Linked DNA regions of Homo sapiens: region 2 is linked to region 1. The links are contacts of gene promoters, found by promoter capture Hi-C in human tissues and cell types (Jung and others, 2019). All regions are on one chromosome and are shown on one strand. The core of a region is centred on a gene start or on the middle of the fragment in contact, and the rest is flanking DNA. Distances in the headings are between cores, read along the strand shown. Region 1 holds the start of GLRB (glycine receptor beta). Region 2 has its middle 8.2 kb from the start of LINC02272.

Region 1 (7,073 bases), core at 4,468-6,967:
TTGACCACAAAATAAGAAGAATAAATAACTGGCACAAACTGATCTGTGGTTGACAGTTGCTTGGTAATACCTACTTGGATGTAAAGAATTTTGGCCAAAATTCATGATTCTGTATTATGAATATTGACACTGCCTTAATAATAGAACTCTGAATAACAATAGATTTATTTGTTTTTAAGACATATTCTTGAAATACACTAATAATAACATGTCATTTTCATACAGGAAGGTGTTTTTACTTTTTGCTAAGGACTTAGGATATATGTCTAATTTATCTAAAAAGCTGTGTCATAGCAGTGAATACTTTGACAATGCATTACACTCTTGATATCTGTTTTAAGTCCACACACATCAAGGCACACATGGTTCTTCCCCATGGGGGTAAGCACTGTTGGCAGATTGGTAGATACTAACGTGGGCTACTTAATTGTTCTGGACTGTTTCCTCAATTAAATGAAAGACAGTGTGACACTCAAATTTGTAAATAGAAATATATTATCCACATTTCTTCTCTCTTCTCATATCATCACAATTAGTGTGGTATTTTGGTTGAATAGTATTGTCATTCTGTGTATCATAAGACGTTATTGAATATACAATTTAGAGTCACACAAAAATATTTTAAGGGCCAGCTTCCAGAATCAGACATATTTAGATACATATCTCTCTCAATCACTTACTAGTAAACTGACTTCGGAAAAATTATATGATGCCTGGGGATCTTTATCTGTAAATTGCAACAAGAAAAGTATTAACCTCATAAAGGTATTGAGGAGATAATAAATTCAAAGTACTTTGCTGTCAATCAATGACGATGGTCATTACTATTTTTGCTATTATTAATATGATGAACAGAAAAAATATTAAGTAAAAAATGACTCACATATTAGTTCATCTTTAAGGCCAAAATATTAAGTAAAAAATGACTCACATATTAGTTCATCTTTAAGGCCAATCTGGAATTGGAGGTAAGAACAACCCCTTTGATTTCAATTTTTTAATTTGCATTCAGTATTCTGTACAAAGACATCTACGACTAAAAACTAAGCTTCTTTCACTTGCCTATGTGCAATTGGAGTCAGTCTTAATGTTGTAAAGGACATGAAAGATGAAATAATCCTATCTCTTCCTCTTCCAAGTCTAATATTCCGGATAAGTTAAATTCCCTTTCTGAGCCTCTCCTCTGGTTTCTCATCAAAAATATGGATATGAAAATAACTTGCAAGTAAATTTTGAAGTTTTAAAACCATAATGTAGAAAATTTTTTTGCAATTAATAGGTAATCAATGAAAGATGGCTATTATTGTTTAAAAGTTAGTTTAAAAATAAGAGATTGCAGAACATTTTAAGGATAATGTGCTATTTGAAGAAAACATATGGAAGTGATTTTATCAAATATCAAATAATGTTTTTATTATTCTAATAAGACTGGCTACAAATCAACATTTCCTAATGTAAGTTTTACTGTCTTTCAAGTTTTATGAACAGTGTTTGCAAGATGCTGAATTACTGTCCCACTATTCTCATCATCTTCTGCTGTAATTTTCTCTTTATTTATATTTATTCTCCCATTATCTATTTTGATAAATGTTTAAAGATGATGATTTGGAGGAGAACCATATCTAAAACAGCTGGACATACTTTTATTGAAAATATCTGATCATTATAGTGGTAAATGGACTGAAAGTTTGATGAAAAATTTCATGAATGACTATTACAGTGCAGGCTGTCATTAAAGAGGAAGTATGACTCATGTAGAGAGAATACAGAAAAAAATAATTTATATCTTTAAACCATGTTGTAAGGCTATTTAGGCAATGGCAACAGTGATGAGTACTTATGTCACACACAAAAAATGATTTGGTGAGAATACTCTCTCTGTATCCAAAGTTTGATTTCTTAGTATAACAGAAGATATTTAGGGCTGTATTTAGGTTTTATTATCAAGTCAAATAAAATAAATATATTATAGGCCAGGTGAAGATGGATGCATAGAAAATAGAGTCCTTAGCTACCCAGGAGTCTGAGGTAGGAAGTTTGCTTGAGCATGAGAGGAGGAGGTTGCAGTGAATCAAGATCATGCCACTGTACTCCAACCGGGGCGACAGAGCCAGACCCTGTTTCAAAAAGAAAAAAAAAAAGAAAAAAGAAAGAAAAGAAGGTTAGAAGGTTTTTAGTGTTTAGATGTAGGCCTACAAAATGTTCTCAGTGTAGACGTACAAGAAAGAAATGGATAACAGGGTCCCAGTAAGCAAAAAATGCATGTACCCACAAAAATTAAAAATAATTAAAAAAAAAACAGCCACAACAAAATTCTATCATTCCATTAAGCAAATAAAAACAAGCAAAAATAGGGGAGGTTAATTCTTTGTGACTTTTCTTCTCTGCAGCAGATTTTTAACGTCAATTAACCTGTTTATTTCTTGGTACAATCCTGCAAATTATGCATTGTCATTTTCATTTTACTAATAAAGAAACATGAAATTTGAAGAAATTAATAAATGAGGCCAAGATTTACACATTCATTCAACACTATTCTAGGTGTGTGGGCAACATCAATGGACAAAAATAGATACAAATCTCTGCCTTCATGAAGCCTACATTTTAGCAAGGAAACAGAGGCCACAAACTGTAAGTATATTGTATGATGAGTTGGGAGGTAATAAGTACTATGAAAACAAAAAGAAAAGCAGGCAAAGGGGGATTGGAAATCTTTGGATGGGAGATGGTTTGCACTTTTAAATAACATTGGATAAATCTCTGTGAGACGGTGACATCTGGGTTGATGTTGAAGATATGAGGGAGTCAGTCATGTGGTGGTCTGGGGGGAAAGCATTTTAGACAGAGGAGCCAATAACCTAAGATGGGACCATACCTGGCTTTGGCATGTTGGAGAAGCAGCAAGATCAGCAGGGCTGAAAGAGAGCGAGCCATTAGGAGAGAAGAAGTCAGAGTTAGGGGGAGGAGATGCATAACAATTGAAGGTTTGTAGACCATTGTAAACACTGGTTTATAAAATGGGGACTAACTGCTGGGTGTTGAGTTGAGGAATGACACAATATGACCTATGACATGTTTTAAAGGGATCACTCTGGCTACTGTTTTGAGATTACTCAAGGGTAGGAGAGGACAATGATAGAGGCAGGGTGAGTAGCTAAAGTGCTATTATAGTAATCTAACGTAGAGATGAAAGTCACTGAGTCTAGGTTGGCTGCAGTAAAAATCATAAGAAGTAGCTGAATTCCTGTTGTCATTTGAGAGTAAACAGGATTTCCTCAGAGATTTGGTTGTGAGGTGTGAGAAAAAGAGCGGAATCAAGAACAACTTCATGATTTTTAGCCTGACCAACCCTAAGGATGAGGTTGCCGTGAACTGAGAAGGAGAAGGCTGAATGTGGGGCAGATTTTAGGGAGAACCATAGCTCAGTTTGGGACACACTGAGTTTGACATGTTTATTAAATACGCAAGTTGAAATGTTGAAAAGGCAGTTAGATAGATGAGTCTGGAGTTCTGGAGAGATGTCTAGTCAGGAGAAGTACATATGGGAGCTATCAACATGGTGTTTAAAACCTTGTGACCAGATGAAATTACTAAAGGAGTGAATATTGATAGAAATAAATAGAGAAAAGTAGATCAACACTTGACAGAATTGGGGAAAATAGGTTATTTCATGACATTATTTAGAAGCATCCCTTTTCACACTATGATATAAAAGTTATAGAAATATAGGTAAGCAGATCACTTTCATAGAAAAAAATTTTCAGAATTCTGAACTTGACCATTTTACAGGCTAGAAGAAGTGCTTTTAGGGCATCAACTATATTTCTTAACCTTTGGGCCAAAACCCTACAAACCCATCCAACCTGCTGGACTTGCTTTTCTTCTGAATAACCTAATTCTCCAATATAACATCCATGGATGGCACAGAAACAATACTAGGGAAGGTGAGCAAGTCTGTTGTAGGTATTTTCAGCATAGTTCTTCCAAATGTGGACATTAGAGTTTGTAAATAAAAGATGTTCATTTTATTACAGGAATCGGAATTCCTATTATTCTAAACTCTTAATAATTTCTTGATTAATTGAAAACTAAGTGTAAGGTTTTCGCCAACTTCTAAACTCCCCTGGCTGCATGAAAACTAATTCCTTTATCATTCTTCATATGACCTATTCACCAAAAGTTATATCTTATGAAACGTATATTATCAATATAGTTCTCTCTAATAAAGCATTAAAATCCAAAGTTATATCCTGATCCACTTTGGCGGGGGGGTCTTCAAACAGTACAGCTCTTTGAATAATGATCATTTTGTAATGTAAATAAGGTAATGATCACTTATTAATGATCACTACTCTTAGGCAGCAGAATATCTCATGAAGCTTATGGAACACGGTTATATGCAGGAAATATTCCTTCCCTCCATATGCTGCGGGTGGAAAAATTTATTAGTGGATACATCTGTGGGTCCACAATACAATGCTAAGTGATGCTCACTTGAGACAATGCTTTTTTAATAAAAAAAATCCATCAGGACCTGGTGCAGTGGGGTGGGGTGGCTCAAGCCTGTAAGCCCCCCAGCTTGGGAGGCTAAGGCAGGCGGATGGCTTCAGGCCAGAGTTGGAGACCATCCTGGACAACAAAGCCAGAGATGCTGTCTCTTAAAAAATAATAATAATAATTAGTGGAGCGCAATGGCCTGTCTGTTGTTCCAGCTACTCTACTAGGGAGACCGAGACAAGAGGATCTCTTGATTGCCCAGAAGTTCAAGACTGCGGTGAGCGATGACTGTGCCTCTGCACTCCAGCCTGGGCAACAAAGTGAGCTCCTGTTGCTTAAAAAATAACAATTAAAAAAAATCAATCAGGCATACATTCAAGAGGTAATAGGATAGCCTTATCTGTTATCTAAGGGCTGCATATCCAAGTAAGGGCTACTTCTTCACAAGGATGAGGACAACAGTATTTTGCTCTTATAAGGCAGAGACCCTGTCTGGTTCAGATATGCAAAAATCACTAATTTTGAATCTCTGGTAAATTTCTTTCAAGATCTGTAACTCTAAGTAAATCTCTTAATATAACTGAGTTTCAGATTCTTCATCTACAGAAGGGGATGACAAAACTTGCCCAGGAATGTGGTGAGGGCCACATGAGATAAGGCGAGTGAAAGGTGTTTTGCAACTGTCAAGTTCTGTACACATGTTAATTATGTAACAGATGTTAAACATAGTATTACCTGTATGACTATATTGTCAGTAATTTTGACCAATTTAAGCTTGCTCAGAAAGTTCAGGCTTTTAGAAATTGGAAGACCCGGAGATTAAGCTGGATGTCTGGGTTCCAGGCAAATGGTGAAATGACAGAAAATGTGTTTTGTTCGCTTTGACCCAAGAAGGTCATTTGTTGCTCTGTTGTTTGTTGCTAGTGGTCAAAAGCTGACCCCAAGCAATCCCAGCTCCTTGAAAGGTTTTTTCTTTTTGTACCGACACTATCATTCCCGCCCTTCGTCCCCAACTCCTTTAGTCCCCTAAGGAGTGAGGGGGGTACACATTTCTGCTCGGTAACCCCTCCAATGCCTGAAGGGGACGATGCCGTGACGTTGCTCTGTCGGGACACCTCTTCCCTCCCCCGCCCGCGGTCGCCAGGTTCCCCCGCGGCCCGCGCTGTCCCCGCTGCGGCCCCGACCGCGGCGCGCCACGGCGCAGGCTCCGCGGCCCGAGCAGGCGCGTCAGCCGAGCTCGGCGGTGGCGCGGGCGGCTGGGACGCAGCTGCCCCCGCTCGGCGCCCGCTGCACCCTTAGCAGCCACTGCCACCTGGGCCCGGAGCCTCCACGATCTCGCCCGGCGATTGTGGGCAGGGGCGCCTCCGGGTAAGTGCCAGGAGCTCCACTTAGGAGGAGGGGACGCGGGTTGGGGCGGCGACGGTGGTCTGAGGACGGGAATAGACGCCTTTGCGGAAACAGCGGGTCAAGCCCGGGGCGGCGGAGCGCGAGGAGCACTGCGGCGTGCCCGGGAGGACGCGCGCTGCCCTGCGCGGGAGAGGGGCGCGGGGCGCCTGGCAGCGGCAGCCGGGTCCCCGCTGCGGTGGCGCCCGCGGAGACGCTCCGGGTGGAGAGATGCAGAGGGCCGGGGTAATTAGGAAACGCAAGGTTGGCCAGGAGGGCTCCTTGCGTTGTTTTGTTTATGAGGATCCTCCAGTCAATGCAGCTGTCCCCCTTGAAAGATTGGGGGTGAGGACAGAGCAGAGTGGTGAATTTCTCTGTTTTTCGAAGCGTTAGGGGGGCTCGGCCCTCCTTTTTGCGGGGGCAAGGATGTGAAAGTGGGAGAAGTACCTGCTGCTGTGGGCAAGGTGTCTGGAAGCAGGTGCCGCTGTCGGATGGGGGAAGGGAGCGTCCAATGTTGTGAAGTTGCCAGAGGAGAACCTTGTGTTGTTGCTGTTGGTCTGATGAGCCCCCTCTGTTGTCTTCAATTTAAAGTACCCAGGGAGAAGCCCCTCTGGCTTGCCTGGAGTGTGTGTAAAAGATAAATATGGGGGGAAGAATCCTGGGGGGGGGGGGGGAAGATGAAAAACATGACATAAGGAGAAGCAAATTTCTGAGGGTGAGATGGGAATTAAGTTAGCGTTGAAGAATATGACAGGTCTTTTACTCTGCGGAAAACAATGAAAGAGAAACAATTTATGGTTTGGAAATGAAGGTTGCAGAAGAGTTTGAACTTCTCTAGTGTAGGTAGAGGCTTAATTATTTTTTATTTATCAGAATCTCTGGCAAGAATATGGTTCTGATTTGAGCATGAAAATGTTATTAAAATATGGCTAGGACGATAATTTGAAAAAAATGTAACAACACTTGTTTTATTTCTTGTTGTAGAATTTCTGAAGTAATCTTTTTGATGACAAATGTTAGTAGCAAATAAGTAAGAAAGCTTTAAAGCTAACTTAAGAGGCACCTTTTTGGGGCAAAAAGGTAGCTTGCCAATGTAATGTGTTTAAATAAAAAAAGCAATGAATTTTGAATGTGGAACTCTTTGATATTAACTTTTTCTTTTATCTGTCTTTTTTAATACTTAGAATTTCTTT
Region 2 (6,639 bases), core at 3,268-5,767, 420 kb before region 1:
CATGGCAGTGTTCAGCCCTGGAATTTCCATTAAAAAATGTGACCATGTGCATGGTGTAGATGAAAGCAAGATGCCCTGAAAGCTTTTGTTAAGCAAGTTGAAATAAGGCAGGTTATAACTTTCAGAGTCACTGGGACATAGCCTTAAACAACGAAGCAAAAAAGTAGGTGGATGGAAACTACAGCAACTGCCGAGACAGCTCCACATAGCTTTAAGGGAACTTTTTATCTTTTTTGAACAAAGATGTCAGACTAGTCAGACTGTCTGGAAATCCCAAAAAGAAAAATTTCAGCATACTTTCCAGATGGTAGAGGAAAATATCAAATACAAACCCTATCATATGTTTCCCCATTTTGTTGTGGGGTGTCATGTTTTTACCTATACTCATGGATCTTAATACCAGTCATATTCACTTCTAAATTAAAGTGCAACAAGAAATAGTCAAAGGCAAATATGTGTATATATATATATGTAAATATATGTGTGTGTGTGTGTGTGTGTGTGTGCATGGATAGTGCATGTATATACACATATACATGATAATATCTAATACAGTAAAAAATATACAGGAATTGGATATTCTTTTGTGAATATTTTAGATGATAAAATGAAGCCCCATGAAGTATTAAATTTTGAAATAACTTAAAGAATGTAATTGGATTGTTTGTAACTCAAAAGATAAATGTTTAAGGGGATGGATACCCCATTCTTCATGATGTGCTTATTTCACATTGCATGCCTGTATCAAAACATCTCAGGTACCCCTTAAATAGATACACCTACTGTGTATCTACAACATTTTTTAAAAATTAATTTTCTTAAAAAAGGAATTTTCAAATGTTTATCTTTCTATAACCAAACTGTTAGTCACATTATCACATTTGAAATAATTTTTAATAGAGTTTAAAATATTGTTAATGATAGATTGATTATAAAACCTATTTAGATCTCTGGATATAATTTTCAATGTGCTTTTACATTTTCTACTGCTACTTATAATTATTTATCTTGCTGTAACATCAAAATTTTCATTACTGTCACTCTGTCTGCTCCCGGCCAAACTCCCTACACCTCCTTTCATTGGCCTTCCTGTTACTAGTTTGGATGATTAACAAAGTTGTCAAGCTTGTTAAAAGTGTCTTTTCCAAATTAAAATAATAAAACAAAACATCAAATTAGAAAATATCAGGATAGCTATCCCTAAGGCCATTTCACACAACTTTCCTACACACTGCCTAAGAAAGCCAGAAAAATGATAAAACCCAAACTGAAAACTAGGAAAGTCAATTCAGAAGAGATTCTATATACAACAAAGCAGATTGGATTAAATCAAAAAGTACAATTGATGGTCTAAGTGTGGAGAACCTGCCCACTGAAAGAAAAATGGAAAGACCTGGTAACTTCCTTTTCATCTCTGTCCACTGGGTCAGCTGCGCAAGATACATACCAACAAGAAAACCAGTTACCCCACTACTTAACAGATGGTGCATTCAATTGATCCAAAGCACCCTCTTTCTTAATCTAAATCTAATCCTACCTTCCACCCCAACACCTCAACACACACACACTCATACTTCTTTCATTCTTTTGGAAAATAAAGCCTAAAGAAAGAAAGTAAACAGGAAGAGAATACAATGTGTTTAAAAAAAAGATTGGAGTGATTTTATGACATTTTAGAAAATGTAACCCTCCAAGCTAAGATTTGTAGATGGTATGAAAATTCTCAATAAATTTTTAAGAAGTGGATGTAATTTTTATATATCCCATTGCTTTGCAATCTAATATTTATTCTAAAGATAAGATTTTATTCAGAATTGGGCTAGGAGTTGTGCATACTAATATCAGATAGTACAATGACTTAGTTGATTTAGTTGTGCTAGAAAAATCTATATGATATCAGTGAATTAAGGATGGGGCAGTCAACATGGCGTGTTTATAAGAAACACCAGACCTGCAGACATCTCTACTATTTCAAATAAGAATTAAAAAAAAAAGAAAGAAAACTAAAGGGTCTTAGAAAACATTGCAGAACAGGGAAAAGGAAAGCTCATTCTGTAGGCTAAATACTTGTGCAAGTCACCAAGCAGCCAGAATAATTGTTCAAAAAGTATGGCATTTGCAGAAAAACTCAAAAAGACTGAGAAGAATTTCATGTAAAACAAGTGCAAAAGCCTTTAAAAGATTCATATTTTAAAAGGTCCAAAGTTTTTAAAAGTGAGATAGATTGGCTAGAGGCATTACACTTTCTGATTTAAAAACATATTACAAACCTACAGTAATGAAACCAGTATGGTACTGATATAAAATAGATATATGGACTAATGGAACAGAATAAAGTCTAGAAATAAACCTATGCATGTGTGATCAACTGATTGCTCACAAGGGTGGCAAGAATACACAATGGGGAAAAGATAGCCTCTTCTATAAGAAGCTTTCAGAAAGCTGTGTATACACATCAAAGAACAGAAGTGAATCCTTATTTCACACCACACACAGGAACCAAGTTAACATGTATTAAAGATTTAAACATAAAATTTGAAATAGTAAAAATCCTAGAAGAGAACATGTGGGAGTGTAGCTTTATGAGATGGTCTTGGAAATTACTTCTTGGATAGACATCAAAAGCACAGACAACAAAATAAAAAATAGACAAATGAGACTATATCAAAATAAATACCTTCTGCACAGCAAAGAAAACAATCAACAGAGTGAAAATGCAACTTCCAGAATGGGAGATAATATTTGGAAACCATATATCTAGTAAGGGATTAATATCCAAAAGATATCATGAACTCCCACAACTCGAAAGCAAAAGAAAATGAAATCACCCTATTAAAAATGGGAAAGACACTTAAATATATACTTCTGCAATGAAAACATACAAATGGTCAAGAAAATGAAGAGATGTTCACAGCACTAACAACAAAGTCCCCACAAAAACCCCATCCAAGTATCAGCAGCCTCAAAGATCTAAACTAGACAACTCATAAAGATGAGAAAGAATCAACAAAAAAATGCTGAAAACCCCAAGGGCCAGAGTGCCTCTTCTCAAAACGAATGCAATGCCCCTCCAGCAAGGGTGCAGATCTGGATGAGGATGAAATGGACGAATTGACAGAAGTAAGCTTCCAAAGATGGTTAATAACAAACTGTCTGAGCTAAAGGAGCATGTTCTGATCCAATGCAAATAAGCTAAGAACCTTGATAAAATGTTAGAGGAGCGCATAACTAGAATAGCCAGTTTAGAGAGAAACATAAATGACCTGAAGGAGCTGGAAAACACAGCATGAGAACTTTGTGAAGCATACACAAGTAGCAATAGTGGAATCAACCAAGAGGAAGAAAGGATATCAGAGTTTAAAGACCACCTAGCTGAAATAAGGCATGCAGACAAGATTAGAGAAAAAAATAATGAAAAGCAACAAACAAAGCCTCTGAGAAATATGGGACTGCATAAAAAGATCAAACCTACGATTGATGAGAGTACCCGAAGGAGAAGAGGAGAATGGAGAAAAGCTGGAAAACACACTTCAGGATATTATCCACAAGTTCCCCAACCTAGCAAGGCAGGCCAACATTAAAATTCAGGAAATACAGAGAACATCACTAAGATTTTCCATGAGAAGATCAACCCCAAGATACATAATCATCAGATTCTCCAAGGTTGAAATGAAGGAAAATATGTTAAGGGCAGCCAGAGAGAAAGGCCAGGTCACCTACAAAGGGAAGCCCATCAGAATAATAACGGACCTCTCAGCAGAAACCCTACAAGTCAGACGAGAGTGGGTGCCAATATTTAACATTCTTATAGAAAAGAATTTTTCATATCCAGCAAAACTAAGCTTCATAAGGGAAGGAAAAATAAAATCCTTCCCAGACAAGCAAAGGCTGAGGGATTTTATCTCCACCTGGCCTGCCTTAAAAGAGCTCTTGAAGGAAGCACTAAATATGGAAAAAAAAAACCAGTACCAGCCACTGTAAAAACACACCACAATATAAAGACCAATGACACTATGTAGAAACTGCACATCACGCCATTCAGAGTGGTGATTATTAAAAAGTCAAGAAATAATAGATGCTTGCGAGGCTGTGAAGAAATAGGAACCCTGTTACACTGTTGGTGGGAATGTAAATTACTTCAACCATTGTGGAAGACAGTGTGGCGATTCCTCAGGGACCTAGAACCAGAAATACCGTTTGACCCAGAAATCCCATTATTGGGTATATGCCCAAAGGAATATAAATCATTCTACTATAAAGACATATGCACTCGTATGTTTATTGCAGCACTATTTACAATAGCAAAGACATGGAACCAACCCAAATGCCTATAAATGATAGACTGGATAAAGAAAATGTGGCACATATACACCACGGAATACTATGCAGCCATAAAAAGGAATGAGATTATGTCCTTTGTAGCGACATGGATGAAGCTGAAAGCTCTTATCTTCAGCAAAGTAACCTAGGAAGAGAAAACCAAACACCACAAGTTCTCGCTCATAAATGGGAGTTGAACAATGAGAACACATGGACACAGGTAGGGGAACAACACACACCATCACCTGTTGTGGGGTGGGGGACAAGGGGAGAGAGCCTAGAGGAAGGGTTAATAGGTGCAGCAAACCACCATGACACACGTATTCCTATGTAACAAATCTGCACATTCTGCACACATATTCCGGAACTTAAAGTAAAATTTTAAACAATTTAAAACAAAAATAAAATGTTTAACATTACTAATCACCAGGGAAATGCAAATTGAAACCACAATGAGATATTACCTTTCACCTATTAGGATGGACACCATCAAAACACACATACCCACATAAATACAGACACAAATAACAAGTGTTGATGATGATGTGGAGAAAAGGAAATTCTTGTACACTGTTAGTGAGAATCTGAAATGATGCAGCCACCATAGAAAAGAGTATGGAGGTTCCTTAAAAATTTAAACATAGAATTACCATATGATCCAACAATTCCACTTCTTGGTATATATCTGAAATAATTGAACTTAGGAACCTGAAGACATAGCAGCACTCTCATGTCCATGGCAGCAGGTATTCATAATAGCCAAGATGTCAAACAACCCAAATGTCCAAAGACATATGAGTAGTTTTTTTAAAAGTGGTAAGTACATTCAATGGAATATTATTCAGCCCTAAAAAAGAGAAGAAAATCCTACCATTGGTGACAACACGAATGAACCTGGAAGACACAATGCTAAGTGCAATGTCAGCCACAGAAGAACACATACTGCTTGTTTCCTCTTATATGTGACATTGAAAATATTGCTATATAGAAGTAGACAACAGAATGGTGATTACCAGGGCATGAGAGAGGTGGCGATGAGGAATGGTTGTTCAAGAGGAATAAAGTTACCATTCTACAAGATGAATGAGTCTCAAAGATCTGCTGTTACAACATAGCGCCCACAGTTAACAGTAAGGTATAGCTCACTTAAAATTTTGTTAAGACTGTAGATCTCATGTTAAGTGTTTTTACTGCAAAAAAGAGAATGCAAGGAAACTTTTGAAGGTGATAGATATGTGTATTACTTTGTGGTGATAGTTACTTGTGTTACAGGTATGTCCATTGTATACCTTAATGAGGTACAATTTTTGGTATATTGATTATACCACCTTTTTTAGGCTGAAGAAAATAATTTTTAAAATAAGATGAGTTAGTGAAGAAAAATCATAGTAGCAATAATAAAATATATATTAGAGGTGATAAAAATTAAAATTGACAAAGAATAAAAATAAAATCCTAATTTAGAGAACCAGCTAGATAAATTTCCTAATAACGCAGAGGAAAATTGGTGTAAAGAAAGGAAAACATTACATAAGAATATATAATTTTGAAAGACATGCAATAAGAATACAACCAGACAATAGTAGAGGTTACTGTGAAAGAAACCACAATGTCTAAAACAGAAGGAATAATGAAAGATTTATGAAAGAAAAAGTTCCTACCCTAAATAAATGACCAACCTATAGATCAAAAACGCTCAATAATCTTTGAGCATAAAAATTATAGAGACTTATATCTTAGCATACCCAAAAGAAAAAATGAAGTTAGAATGATAAAGAAAATATACTAAAGTCACCCAAACATTTTTAAATTTAATAAAAATCAGGTAACACTTCTTTCAAATGGTAAAACAAACAAAAAAACCCCACAACTTGGATATCCTACCAAGTGGTTGTTATGTGTACAGCCCACAAGAAAAAGAAGATATTTACAAATACGCAAGAGCTCAAAAGAGATTACGCTAACGTATGTTGCTTACAAAAATTAATAGAAAACCATTTTAACAGCTAAAAATTGATCAAACATAATTTTTAAAAGATAGTTCATCATGTAATAAGACTTACAGTAAATGTTAAATTAGTTCAATGACATGTGTAAATATGTAGGAAATCATGAAACTTTATCTAAAAATAACATATATCATATAAATAATAATAATATAGGTGAAAGTCTCTAGATTAATGATCACAATTTCAAGTGATCACAGGGCCTGAGAAATAAGGCAGATATATAAAGAGGGCCAGGCTTAATGAATAGGGAGTGGTGGGGAGGACTCTGTACTAGAGAGCAAATTCAGTTACGCACAGCGTAACAACCTTT

Evidence for each region. Contacts are between HindIII fragments. The study calls those that stand out against the background at their distance.
Region 2: a fragment that was not itself captured here is called in contact with the fragment with the promoter of GLRB in region 1 in 2 of the 25 tissues and cell types used here (dorsolateral prefrontal cortex and mesenchymal stem cells).

The regions. Positions count from the first base shown.
Region 1 is chr4:157,070,433-157,077,505 of GRCh38, forward strand. It overlaps GLRB (glycine receptor beta), which reads left to right and starts at 5,718. Exons shown (of 10, transcript NM_000824.5): 1 at 5,718-5,865. RefSeq lists a silencer at 2,825-3,119. The HindIII fragment of the contact is 3,601 bases long and covers 4,826-7,073 here.
Region 2 is chr4:156,647,368-156,654,006 of GRCh38, forward strand. No RefSeq gene overlaps it. Among named protein-coding and RNA genes, the nearest start is that of LINC02272, 8.2 kb to the left of the region's middle. The HindIII fragment of the contact is 5,478 bases long and covers 1,779-6,639 here.